5 separate regions of the Homo sapiens genome follow, and regions 2, 3, 4 and 5 are each linked to region 1. The links are contacts of gene promoters, found by promoter capture Hi-C in blood cells and fetal thymus (Javierre and others, 2016). All regions are on one chromosome and are shown on one strand. The core of a region is centred on a gene start or on the middle of the fragment in contact, and the rest is flanking DNA. Distances in the headings are between cores, read along the strand shown.

What was found. Contacts are between HindIII fragments. The CHiCAGO score rates a contact against its expected background, and 5 or more counts as called.
Region 2: a fragment that was not itself captured here is called in contact with the fragment with the promoter of PMPCB in region 1 in 1 of 17 cell types (erythroblasts); the score reaches 5.1 in erythroblasts.
Region 3: a contact is called between a fragment that was not itself captured here and the fragment with the promoter of PMPCB in region 1, in 1 of 17 cell types (erythroblasts). The highest score is 7.0, in erythroblasts.
Region 4: a fragment that was not itself captured here is called in contact with the fragment with the promoter of PMPCB in region 1 in 1 of 17 cell types (erythroblasts); the score reaches 5.9 in erythroblasts.
Region 5: a fragment that was not itself captured here is called in contact with the fragment with the promoter of PMPCB in region 1 in 1 of 17 cell types (erythroblasts); the score reaches 5.1 in erythroblasts.

Annotation. Positions count from the first base shown.
Region 1 is chr7:103,295,999-103,298,698 of GRCh38, forward strand. PMPCB (peptidase, mitochondrial processing subunit beta) reads left to right here and starts at 1,437. Exons shown (of 13, transcript NM_004279.3): 1 at 1,437-1,560; 2 at 2,570-2,700. The coding sequence starts at 1,462. RefSeq lists enhancers at 1,232-1,291, 1,392-1,691. The HindIII fragment of the contact is 11,349 bases long and covers 1-2,700 here.
Region 2 is chr7:103,131,924-103,134,623 of GRCh38, forward strand. All of the region lies in intron 1 of NAPEPLD (N-acyl phosphatidylethanolamine phospholipase D), which reads right to left. Among named protein-coding and RNA genes, the nearest start is that of NAPEPLD, 16 kb to the right of the region's middle. The HindIII fragment of the contact is 800 bases long and covers 943-1,742 here.
Region 3 is chr7:103,093,405-103,096,104 of GRCh38, forward strand. All of the region lies in intron 5 of ARMC10 (armadillo repeat containing 10), which reads left to right. Among named protein-coding and RNA genes, the nearest start is that of ARMC10, 20 kb to the left of the region's middle. The HindIII fragment of the contact is 4,149 bases long and covers 1-2,700 here.
Region 4 is chr7:103,149,968-103,152,667 of GRCh38, forward strand. It overlaps LOC105375434, which reads left to right. Exons shown (of 3, transcript XM_047421168.1): 2 at 1-597. It also overlaps a transcript of NAPEPLD not described here and the pseudogene RPL23AP95. Among named protein-coding and RNA genes, the nearest start is that of NAPEPLD, 2.2 kb to the left of the region's middle. The HindIII fragment of the contact is 2,071 bases long and covers 279-2,349 here.
Region 5 is chr7:103,113,269-103,115,968 of GRCh38, forward strand. It overlaps NAPEPLD (N-acyl phosphatidylethanolamine phospholipase D), which reads right to left. Exons shown (of 5, transcript NM_001122838.3): 4 at 1,792-1,906. Among named protein-coding and RNA genes, the nearest start is that of NAPEPLD, 34 kb to the right of the region's middle. The HindIII fragment of the contact is 557 bases long and covers 987-1,543 here.

The DNA.
Region 1 (2,700 bases), core at 187-2,686:
AGTAGATTGAAGAGGCAGGAAAGGGGTGTATCAATTGAATGTGGAAGATGGAAAAAGAGAGGAGCTTCTGGGTGGTTTGGAGTTTTGGGCAAATGTAGGTATGATTGGCTGTTTGGCATTGCAAATATGGGAAGAGATTCAGGGGACACAGTGAATTCCCTTTTGGACAAGTTGATATTGAGTTTCCAATGGGGTATTCAAGTGTAGTTTCCTAGTAGTTGATGGTTAAGTGGGCTGGAGCTCAAGAGAAAGGCCTGGGTTGGGCAGACAGGTCTTGAAGTGGAGGGAAAAACCCAGAGGGAGAATGTTCAGTAGAAGAGGCTTAGAGTCCTGGCAAACACCAACTTTTAGGGCAAAATGTAGTGTTTCACAGCACAGTCTTTGGCGTTAACCTATTACTAGCAGGGTAACCTGGGGCAAGTTATTTGACTTCAGTGTCTTAATTGCAAAATAAGCACTATACCATCTACCTGAGTTAGAAAAGCATTTGCAATTTTTAGTTCCTTGAGAGATCTGTGGGCTGGGCGCAGTGGCTCACGCCTGTAATCCTAGCACTTTGGGAGGTGGAGGTGGGTGGATTACCTGAGGTTAGGAGTTCAAAACCAGCCTGACCAATATGGTGAAACCCCATCTCTACTAAAAATACAAAGTAGCCAGGCGTGGTGGCACATGCCTGTAATCCCAGCTACCTGGGAGGCTGAGGCAGGAGAATTGCTTGAACCCAGGAGGCAGAGGTTGCAGTGAGCTGAGATTGCACCACTGCACTCCAGCCTGGGCAACAAGAGTGAAACTCCATCTCAAAAACAAAAACAAAAACAAAAAACAGATCTGTGAATAAAGAGGAGTCCAAGAAGGTGCAGAGGGAACTATGAGGAGGTGGAGCTCTAGAATATATTGAGAAAAGAGAATTTCAAAGAAGCCAACAATGTCAAATCCTCCAACAGGACTGTAACATAAGTCTGTAAAGTGTCCAACTTTTAGCAATTAGTGACCTTACCAAGGGCAATTTCTATGGAATGAGATGAGCCATATTGTAGAGGTTCGAAGAGTGGATAGTGGTCAACACGGATACATCGTTTCCTCCCCTCACGGCATCTGTCTCTCCCACTAGACTTTTCCTTTAAAGGCAGTGACTTATGAATATTATTCCACTGTTTTCAATCAATTCCATCCACCAGTGAGATATATTGCATCAGGTTACCTTTCATTCCACCGCATTTGTGCCTTGCACTTAGTAGGCGATCGATAAAATAACTGATGATAAAGGGGCTTCTGCAGACTCCCCAATTCATTTGGTAAAGACCGCTCAGCATCATGGTCGGGCCCTGATTGCTTTCACAACCGCTTCGAGGAGTGTCATTCCCATCACGGCCACAAGGTGGAGCCCACCTCCCTGCTCTGGGACCTCAGGTCGCGACCCCGGAAGCACATCCTTCATCCTCTACCTTCCTTCTAGCAGAAATGGCGGCTGCGGCGGCTCGAGTGGTGTTGTCATCCGCGGCGCGGCGGCGGCTCTGGGGTTTCAGCGAGAGTCTTCTAATCCGAGGCGCTGCGGGACGGGTGAGCTTCCCTCCAGGCCGGTCCTGTCCTCGAGATCTCGCCAGACCCGGCGCAGCGCACCTGAGAGTCGGCGCCACAGATCCGAACAGTGGGTCGGGCAGGGCCTCCTCGACCCGGACCCGCCGGGCGCCAGGCGGCCTGGGGCTGCTGAACTGGCCGGGGGTGACTGGCTTGTGGCCACCCGCCAGGAGACCTGCTAGTGACGTGTGGGATGACCCTGGTTTTCGGCTCCTCCCGCCAGCTACTGAGGAGTGCATGTTTGACCACTAAAAACGTAGTGCTTGCAAATTGGGGAAAACTAAAAAGTGAAATGGGTACCGCTCCAGAGTTCTATTTTTGCCTAAGACTGAACTTCGTCCTCAGCTGGGCTTCCCGCGAACCTGGACATCAATGAAGTAAAATTTTTTATGTATTTGCATTTTTCTCATGAGAGAGCCTCTGACTTTAAGCAAAGGGATGTGAGACTTTTGTATAAGGGCAAAGAAAAACTGCTGAAAGGCGAATAGTTTCTGGCCGAAAAGCCAGTCATTTGCATTTTGAACATCGACCCATCTTCCTATCCTCTCTCTCTTTTTTTTTTTAACCATTTCCAAACCCTGTTGCTTTTCTTGAACAATGAAAACCCGAGTGTCAGTTTTGTCTTGTGTGTAGGTAGTTTTACATAGTTTCCCTCTCTTTTTTTTTTTCCTGCTTGTTTTCTCCATAATGAATATAAAACATTTCTAGGAGAGGTAGTGAAATAAAGTCAATTTCTCTCTGGGTAATGATAATAATTGCTCATCTTCCCTGAGGGAAGGGCATGTTTATAAACACGTTGCTGGCTTTAGGACAGTGGCTGGTGACAGATGTTTCTAGGCCAGGCAGAGATCTCAGTGGAACCAAAATTCAAGAAGAAAGATTCTTTTATAGAGACAGCCTATTTAAAATAGATTTGGTTTTAAAAGCAACATTTAATATCAGATTAGTAATGTGTTTTGCTTTGTCTCTTCCACTTCCTACCCCCAACCAGTCATTATATTTTGGAGAGAACAGATTAAGAAGTACACAGGCTGCTACCCAAGTTGTTCTGAATGTTCCTGAAACAAGAGTAACATGTTTAGAAAGTGGACTCAGAGTAGCTTCGGAAGACTCTGGGCTCTC
Region 2 (2,700 bases), core at 93-2,592, 160 kb before region 1:
GCCAACACAGTGAAGGCTCGTCTCTACTAAAAATTCAAAAATTAGTCGGGCGTGGTGGCGCGTGCCTGCAGTCACAGCAACTTGGGAGCCTGAGGCAGGAGAATTGCTTGAACCCAGGAGGCGGAGGTTGCGGAGACTCCGTCTAAAAAGAAAATGATGTACTTAGGGAAGACAACTCTGATAGCAGGATTAAAAAGAAAGGAAGTGGCTAAAAACTGGAGCTTGGGAGATGGATTGAATGAAAACAGAAGAAGCCTAGAACACCCAATAACACTGAACCACCATGCCACATATTTCACCTATTTCATTTAAACTCATGCTCCTAGCAAACCCTCAAGGTAGGTATTATAATCCCCACTTTTTAATAGTGAATAGCAACCCAGTCAAAAGATGAGGAGGCAGTGCAATGAGAAGAGAAAAAGCAGAATAAATCCAAGAGACAACAAAGAAGATGAATCAGTAAGACTTGAGAGTATTTGGATAGTCACAAATTTTGGACTTTGTAGGGCTGGTTGGTCAGGAGGAGAGTGGGAAGAGTCAGAAATGGCAGCACCACTAATCAAGGTGGATTGTGACCCAGTGAGTTTGAGAAGGGTTTGAGGTCATGGGAAAGCAAGAACCCAAGAGAAAGTCCTCATTGACACCCAAAGGAAATGGATTCAGGCTGCTTTAGGGGTAAAAATAAATAAATAAATAAAATAAAAAATAAAAATAAAAATAAATAAATTAGCCCACTGTGGTGTTGCAGGCCTGTAGTCCCAGCTACTGGGAGGATCCCTTGAGCCCAGGAAGTTGAGGCTGCAGTGAGCTGTTATCATGCCACTGCACTCCAGCCTGGGCGACAGAGCGAGACTCCGTCTCAAAGAAAGAAAGAAAGAAAAGAAACAAAAAGAAGAGAAAAGAAAAAATTGGTGCAGTGATCTTTCTTCTCTCTAAATAATAAGCTTTTTCAAAGTTGTCTATTCACACAATCTCCATTTCCTCACCTCCCATCCACTCAGTCTTTCACCCCAATCAATCTGTGGAAACAGGTCTCATTACCAAATAGCCATCCTCTCCTAACAAACCCCCTCCCCTAACACACACAAAGTCCAGTTTTCAGAAATGCTCTTTAAAAAACAAAAAACAAAAAAATCTGATACAAACAAAACGAAAAAACCTCCAAAGGGTTTTTTGAGGGCAAAGGTCAGCATGATGGTTCACAGGGTCTGTGTTTCTAACCTTACCCACACTCTCCACACTCTCCTCTGCTCCATAAACACGGCCTGAAACTATTTCCTCAGATGTATCATGTACCCACTTCAGGGCGACCAACTGCCACGTTGTCATATCCTTGGGGTATGGGGAAATGTATAGTCACAGGATTATGGACTGCCATCCATGACAGATGTTAAAGCAACACAAAATGATCAAACTATGAAACACCATTTCACACGATGCACTGTTGAAAGGGCAAGAAGGAGCAGAAGCACGTAAAACCTGAGCCTTGAAACTCTGGACTGGTTTTTCTGGAGGAAAAATACTGGGAGCCCATTTGCTGAATGTGCAAAATGACACGCTCTGCCAACAGGTGCTCCAGTGACAAAGGAGCCTCAGCCCGAGAGTGGGTCACACAAGAACGCTCCTCATGCCCAGTGTCTTCTGGGCACTCAGAAGACCACAGATAAAATGACAGAAAAAGTAGGAATGAGGAAGAGTGGGTTGTCTGTATGGTCCTGTGTTAACTAGCTTTGAGCTCTTCAAGCTTGACAAACCCCTTAACATATCTAGCTAGAGTTTCTGTAATTAAATGTGGCAAATTTCAAACTATTTCTTGTTATGTAACTGTTTCCAAAATTAACAATGTAAATGAAAATAATCCACCCTTGATTTCAGGCCAACACCAACTGAAAGTAGATGTGTACATGAATACACAAAAACTGTAAACAACCTGTGTTTCAAAAAGTGCTTTAAAACTTGATAAAGATCTTTCCATTGTACTGATTTTGATTCAATTTAAGATCCATGAATTCTGAAAGAGCAATCTAAACAAATAAGTAATAAATAAATAAAAATACCATGAATTGTAAGGCACCCTGATGTGTCATGTGCCACTAAGGAAGTAAAAATGTTATCAATTATAGTTAGGTCACACGTTATACATGACATATAGTGATATCAGTGGTGTTAAAATGTGAATAAAATGTCTATCTCAAAATGGATGAAATATAGCATTTTGTGTTGGAAAATAAATACGTTGGGACAGGAGTGAAAACATTGCTCTTGATAATTAAATATAATCAGAAGCATAATTAATTGCTCATCCTCTTTCCCTCTGTGAACAACAGTTAGTTATAAACATACCAAATGCTAAATTTGTTCTAGAAAACTAGAATCCAGAAGAAAATTTAAAGGTAACAAACCCCTGTGACAATTGTATTTTAAATATAAAATACAAATGTTCTAGCCAGGCACAGTGGCTCATGCCTGTAATCCCAGCACTTTGGCAGGCCGAGGCAGGTGGATCACCTCAGGTCGGGAGTTCGAGACCAGCCTGGCCAACATGGTGAAACCCCATCTCTACTAAAAATACAAAAATTAGCTAGGCATGGTGGTGTATGCCTGTAGTCCCAGCTACTCAGGAGGCTAAGGCAGGAAAATCACTTGAACCCTGGAGGCAGAGGTTGCAGTGAGCCGAGATTCCAGCCTGAGCGACAGAGT
Region 3 (2,700 bases), core at 95-2,594, 200 kb before region 1:
TTTGAGTTTATCAAGATGTGATTACAGGAGAGTCTTACTGTAGTCCTGCTTTTATGTTTCCAAGGTGTTTGTACATGGACTTTCCTCTTTTCCAATAGCCAAACTTGTTTGGATGTGATCCAAGATGTACCAAAAGGTATTGAAAATTAAATGTAAGAGTAGTCTTCTAGCAATATTGCACCATTCCCAGGCAGTTTCCAACGTGCATCAGCATGTCTGTCTCCAGTGGAACAAGATAACTTCCAGCCCCTGAACCCCTGGGGAAACTCCTTCCCTCTTTACTGTATGTTGTTGCCACTGTAGGAGAAATCTCTCCTCTGCCTGACTCTGCAGCTGCTTTACCCAGAACCTCAGGAGGAACTCTGAGTCCAGAGCCAGGCTGAGTTCAGCCAGGCAAGTCTGGCCTTGGGGCTGTATATATCTGTCTCAGACATCGTCTGTGTTTTCATATATTTTTTGACTTTTTAAAAGATGACCCAGACCACAATAGTATGTTCTATTTTTGTTTTGTTGTGTTGTGTTTTTCCATTACATTGCTTAGTACAGTATTTCTAGGATAGAAAATTTGCTTTCTTGGTCTGCCTTGGAACATACCTACCAATTACAACATTGATTTTCCATAAAAATTGAGTTTAAAGTTCCAACTTGCAAATGAACTTTTGGATAGCCATCCATTTGTTAGTGGGAAAGTGTGTCTGATTTAGGTATTTTCTTAGTAAATAACCACTAAAATGAATGTTTAAATATCGTATTTTGCTTAAGTCAGGGATCTCACTGTACTGTAATAACCGTTTGGGTACACCACTGATTGATAACTTAATGCAGATAGTGGAGGATTAACATAAACTGTGTGCTTGTTACATCCTCAATGAAAACAAAACTAATGGTTTAAAATGTCCTAGTGTCACCACAAGATGGTGCATGTGACGAGGAAAAAAAACATGTCTTAATATGGTTTCAAACCAAAATCCATATATTTGTTTAATCTGTAGTTGTACTCTAACTGTATATATATTTTTTTCTCATATTTAACTCCCTTCTACAAAGAATAGCAACATCAGATTTTAATACAGGATACCAAATAGCTATTGCTGTTGCTATTCCCTGGTTGTATACCTGCCCTCATTGACTATTAGTGGGTCTTAGATTTTGACTTCATCCAGGCTTATTTCGTAAGTTCAGGACCATCCTATTTCATACCTCCTGTTCCTATTTTTCTAATTGAAACTTCATTGACATTGGAGCCAGGTGTTTTTTTCCTAACACTTATTCCTAGTGTTGCTGATAGTCAGTCAGGCCAGATGAGATCTGATAGTGACCTCCACGGAGTGCACTAAAGAAGGGTCAGAAGTCTCCTTTACTCTTTCAACCCCAGAGGCCTTAATTTATTAATAGCATCTCTTTGAAAAAGACAATCTCTGCATATTCAAGAAATGTTACCAGTGGACACTGCTGAGGATTGGAAGGGGCCAAAAGCATGGTGGCTTTTGTTTTTACCTTGTTCTCTTTTGCATTACTTAAAATTTTTATCATGACCAAGTAGTAATTTTCTAAAAATAAAGAAATATTTGATAAAAACAGTAAAATTAAGCAAAGTATTATGTCATCCTCAAATAAATTAGTATCTACAACATGATCAAAGAAATTGTGACTATACAGGATATTTGCATAAAAGACCAAAAAGAAAATACTAAAACTTTTCTTTCTCTTTTTTGACACAGAATCTCACTCTGTTGCCCAGGCTAGATTGCAGTGGCATGATCTCTGCTCACTGCAGCCTTGAGCTTCCAGGCTCAAACAATCCTCCTACCTCAGCCTCCCTGGGACTTTGGTCACATGCCACCACGCCTGGCTGATTTTTGTATTTTTGGTAGAGACGGGGTTTTGCCATGTTGCCCATGTTGCTCTTGAACTCCTGAGCTCAAGTGATCTGCCCACCTTGGCCTCCCAAAGTGCTGGGAATGCAGGCATGCGCCACCGCACCTGGCCAAAAATACCAACACTTAATCGTGATCATTTCTGGTTATGTAAATACGGGTAAATTTTCTTTTTCTTTGTGGTTTTCTATTTTTTTGAAAGTGCTATGGTAAACATCTGTTGCCTTTGTAATAAAAAATTTTTCTAAAATAATATCCAGGTTCCTTCCCAGCTCTAGTGAAGAGCACATTTGTCCCATTTCCCTGAGTTAGTACCCCCCTCTATGCTTATTTTAGTTCCAGGTATCTTGTAGAAAGTATGGTTTCACATGGCCTTTGTTTTTAAAAGACTTGGAACCAACCCGAATGTCCAACAATGATAGACTGGATTAAGAAAATGTGGCACATATACACCATGGAATACTATGCAGCCATAAAAAATGATGAGTTCATGTCCTTTGTAGGGACATGGACAAAATTGGAAATCATCATTCTCAGTAAACTATCGCAAGAACAAAAAACCAAACACTGTATATTCTCACTCATAGGTGGGAATTGAACAATGAGAACACATGGACACAGGAAGGGGAACATCACACTCTGGGGACTGTTGTGGGGTGGGGGGAGGGGGGAGGGATAGCATTGGGAGATATACCTAATGCTAGATGACGAGTTAGTGGGTGCAGTGCACCAGCATGGCACAAGTATACATATGTAACTAACCTGCACATTGTGCACATGTACCCTAAAACTTAAGAATAATAATTAATAAATTAAAAAGAGG
Region 4 (2,700 bases), core at 64-2,563, 150 kb before region 1:
TCACTGTGTGATCGTTTACTTTTAAAATGATGTCACAGCCCCCTGGTACACACGGTTCTCATCTAAATTTGCATCTTTTTTAACGCTAGGATAACTATGAAAGAGCATACGATTGTGATTCTGAGTTTCTTACTGGATTTGCTTTTTAAACTGCAGAATGAAATTAGTTGTTTCAAGAAGTAAAGTACAGGCATGTCGAAGTAAAATTCAACAATGGGTTGTTGGGCAAAAAGATTATAAAAGTCCTGGGGTGTGCCAGGGTCAAAAAAAAAAAAAAAAGCTTGTCCCTGGGGTTATCTTGGCAAAAAAGAAACCACCACCACAGGTTCTAAATGCAGATAAGACTGGCAGAAAAATGCAGACCAAACTATTCTGCATTTTGAAAGTGAATGTGCCTGTGTGACATTGGAGGAATGTAAAGAACTGTATGTCAAGTGTGGACTTTATCTCCTCAGGCTAGCTTAGAGTGGCTGCTGAACTTAAGGGTGATTAAGAGCTGCTTGCACCTGGGTGGAGCTGAAACTGCATAAGGTGAATAATACCTTTGTGCAACAGAAGAAAAAAAAAAAAGTAACAGCATACATACAAACCCAAAGGGTAAGTTGAAGTTACTACTCAAAAGTTCTTCATAGTGTTCTTGACTAAGCAACGGAGAAGTAATCCCGGCACTTTGGGAGGGCAAGGCAGGAGAATCCTTAGAGCCCAGGAGTTGGAGACCAACTTGGGCAACATAGCGAGACTTCATCTCTACAAATAATAATTAAAAAAAAAAAAAAGTAGCCAGCCTTGATGGCCCGCCCTTGTGGTCCCAGCTACTCCAGAGGCTGAGGTGGGAGGATCGATTGAGCCTGGGAGATCAAGGCCGCAGTGAGCTGTGATCACGCCACTACACTCCAGCCTGGGCAACAGAGAAGACCCCATTTCCCCAAAAAAAAAAAAAAAGCTGGGCGCAGTGGCTCACGCCTGTAATTCCAGCACTTTGGGAGGCCAAGGCAGGAGGATCACCTGAGGTCAGGAGTTCGAGACCAGCCTGGCCAACATGGCGAAACCCTGTCTCAAGTAAAAATACAAAAACTAGCTAGGCATAGTGGAGCTCACCTGTAATCCCAGCTACTAGGGAGGCTGAGGCAGTAGAACTGCTTGAACCCCAGAGATGGAGGTTGCAGTGAGCAAAGATGGCACCACTGCACTCCAGCCTGGTAGACAGAGCAAGACTCTGTCTCAAAAAAAAAAAAAAAAAAAAGATGCCCTTTGTTCCCCTCACTCCCACTCTTTTTTTTTAAGTCCTTGTCCTTTATTGGTTAAGGCTGAGGGAAGCAGACAGACCAGTTGGACATAGTAGATGGGTGTGTGAGGTCAAAGTGCTACCTGAAAGCCAGCCAACCCACACTCCCCTAAGATGAATGCTAATGCCCTTCAAACTGTGGGCATTGGTTTCACACACAGCCTCTTCCAGGGATAAAAGAAGGGGTTCTTGTAAAGCCTCTTCTTTTTTCTTTTTTTTTTGAGACGGAGTCTCGTTCTGTCACCCAGGCTGAAGTGCAGTGGCCAGATCTTGGCTCGCTGCAACCTCTGCCTCCCAGATTCTCCTGCCTCAGCCTCCTGAGTAGCTGGGACTACAGGTGCCCACCACCATGCCCGGCTAATTTTTGTCTTTTTAGTGGACATGGGGTTTCACCATGTTGGCCAGGCTGATCTCGAACTCCTGGCCTCAAGTGATTTGCCCGCCTGGGCCTCCCAAAGTGATAGGCTTGAGCCACCGCCACCCGGCAGCTTCTTGTTTTCTTACCTCTACCATGGAGACAAGTTCTGGTTTTCTTAGGACAACTAGCTCTGGTCATAAAGATCTCTGGAGTGATCAAGTATGGTGGAGTGGCAGAGTGAGTGTTCCAAAAGGATAAGTAGAACAGGAGTCTTGCCCAGGCCCTATTACAACCTCAGTACCTTGAATGGCCTCCCCAGCCCAACCAGAAGTTGACAAAGAGGCATGAACCTGGTGAAAAGATACATGTATTTATAATTAGCCAGCTGGACTCAGTTTAGATGACCCCAATTTTGTTGGCAATATCCCAGTTTTGTTGGGTCAGCAACAAAGTTGATCCCAATTTTGTTGGCAATATCCAAAGCATTGTAATCAGGAGCCAGTGGAGCTTATGCCTTCTTCCTGCATCAGGCCTAATCAGGGCATGGACTTTGGCCACATCAGTGTCATAGAGCTTCTTCACAGCCTGTTTGATCTGGTGCTTGGTGGCTTTAACATCCACAGTGAACACAAGTGTGTTGTTGTCTTCTATCTTCTTCATGGCAGACTCAGTGGTCAGAGGAAACTCTGTGACAGCATAGTGGTCAAGCTTGTTTCTCCTGGGGACGCTCTTCTTAAGGGAGGAGACCACCCCTCATATTGTCTTATGCCCAGTTTCTGCCTCCAAAGAAAGAAAAAGTAAAAACTAAAAGGCAGAAATGAAATCCACAAGCAGACAGCCAGGCACCACACCCTGGGCCTGGTAGTTAAAGATCGACCCCTGACGTAATTGGTTATATTATCTACAGATTGCAGACATTGTATAGAAAAGCACTGTGAAAATCCCTATCCTGTTTTGTTCCGATCTAATTACGGGTGAATGCAGCCCCCCAGTCAAGTACCCCCTGCTTGCTCAATCGATCACGACCCTCTCACACACACTCCGTTAGAGTTGTGAG
Region 5 (2,700 bases), core at 15-2,514, 180 kb before region 1:
ATTTATCCTCCCCACAACCCTATGGTTAGTCATTATTCTATTCCTTCTCCCAACAGTGGCCAAGAATTGCTGCATTGTGGCTCAGGGTTGCTGCCTCATGGCACAGGAATTTTGATTAGGGAGTGGGGGAATGGGCAGGCAGTGTATTAGGTAATTTTGGAACACACTGCATCTTTGGGAGAGGGCAGGCCATAAGTGAGACAGAGGAGTAACTAAAACTGCAAGAAAACACTGAGTTCCTGCAGAGAGGCTCTGGGATGTGGAAGATGCCACAGAAAGTAAAGAAGCCAAGTCCTAACCACACTTTTTTTTTTTTTAAAGACAGAGTCTCACTTTTTTTTTTAAGACAGAGTCTCACTTTTTTTTTTTTTTTTTTTCTCAAGACAGAGTTTCGCTCTTTCACCCAGGCTGGAAGGAAGTGCCGTAATCTCGGCTCACTGCAACCTCTGTCTCCCAGGTTCAAGTTATTCTCCTGCCTCAGGCTCCCGAGTAGCTGGAATTATAGGCGCCTGCCACCACGCCCAGCTAATTTTATTAGAGATGGGTTTTCATCATGTTGGCCAGGCTGGTCTCGAACTCCTGACCTCAGGTGATCCACCCGCCTCAGACTCCCAAAGTGCTGGGATTACAGGTGTGAGCCACAGGTGCCCAGCCAAATCTCACTCTTTTGCCCAGGCTGGAGTATAGTGGCACAATCTCGACTTACTGCAACCTCTACTTCCTGGGTTCAGGCGATTCTCCTGCCTCAGCCTCCCGAGTAGCTGGGATTACAGGCACGCACCACCACGCCTGGCTATTTTGTATTTTTAGTAGAGACGGGGTTTCGCCATGTTGGCCAGGCTGGTCTCGAACTCCTGACCTCAAGTGATCCACCTGCCTCAGCCTCCCAAAGTGCTGGGATTACAGGTGTGAGCCACTGCACTGGGCCTAACCATACATTTCTAAGTTTTGTTTAGAGAAGACCTTGGATCCAGGAAAGGAGAGAAAGCTTTATACTATCCTCTGCTTGATCCCAGGACCCAGGCTAGTGGCAGAGTTCTAGGGTCCATCTGCCTTAAGGAAAAATTATCTCTTCTGTTTTAATCTAGGAATAAAATCACATTTATCCCTATGCCTGGCACATAGCAGACACCGAGTCAATGTTTACTGAATATATTTCTAGAAAGTTCCACACTAGCCTTACTTCTCCCTATTGCCCTCCACTCTCCTGCTGAACTGATTCAAGTACTCCCCACACTAGCTGCCTCCGAGCCTATGCTCTGCCCTTTCCTCCTCTGAAAATGCCTTCCTCCCTGCCCTCTCAGAGCCAAGTTCAAATGTCACTTATTCCATCACGCCCTCTCTGATCCCTGCCATCAGCAAACATCCTGATTCTGAGACCATCTCATCTGTTCCACATTACAGCACTTTCCCCTTCTAACATCTGTATCACATACATGACTTCTGTCTTCTGCTAGCATGAGAGCCTGCTTGAGGGGTGAGACATGATGGCTTGCTTTTCTAGTCTCCAGACCACATACAGATTTTTGGTTATACAAATACAAGCTTTACTAACTTCAGAAATAAGCCAAAAGAAAACACAATGAGGTTGTGTTGTTTTTTTTTTCTGACTGTATATGTGTGTATTGTTCTACTAATTAGTATGATTTACCACCCTAATTCATGCAGTGACTGTGATGACTGTGCAGTATCTGATTCCAGAGTCTTGGGTCTGAAAACTAAGGAACAGTGATGCCTGAATCCTATCATTGGTCAAACACACAAAGTTATTTTTATCGCAATCAAACTTACCTCATTTGCTAAGGCAAAAGTTCCCCAGTGAATTGCCATAGATTTCTTTGTTTGGACATCAGTGTGAATCCTTACAGCTTCTTCTGGGTCTACATGCTGGTATTTCATAAACCACCTGAAGAAACATGGCAATTTCTTAATTCTGACCTTTGAGATATACACTAAATTCTAAAATCTGTTTCACTTAACCAAACTTTAAGATTCTGCGCAGGACTATGGATGTTGAGAATTAAGAACCACTGGGATAAAACATGCAGTTTTGGGGAGGATGAGCTAGAAACCAAGTCTGAAGGCCAGGTCAAGGCTAGATTGTAAAAACAAAACAAATTCTGCACAGGAATTAAGTCACAGGAGGCAAAACCATCTCCCTTTGGTACACTTTCTGCTGAAAAATAAAACAAGCAAAAGTCTTTCTTGTACAAATTGCTATAAAATAAGTAAGTCTCAAGCAAACTCCCCTCTGAATAGTGAGATTTTTGTTTCACGTATATTTTGATTTTACTGGATCTATCTGAAGATACAACTTACTGATGATGCAGGGGAGGCGAGCCCCAAAATTGAGGCTTAGCCCAGGAGGGTTTTTGGCCTCACAAACGAAATATAATTCAACGGCAAGCCAGTGGTGCTGGCCAGCAATTTTTTTTAAACGATACTGCTCCTTGAGGAGCAGTGCTAAGTTATAGGCAGTAAGTGCACTCAGAGTTGGCAACATATGAGGGGTTGGTAACTGTATTTACACTCACTTATACCCACTTTTAATTATATGTAAATTAGGGAATGGGTTAATGCAAATTAAAGGGCAGATTATTTAGAACTTTCTAGGAATGGGGTGGTAACTTCTTGGTCATTGCCATGGAAAGGGGCAGTAACTTCTAGGTTGTTGCCATGGCCATTTATAAACTGTCATGG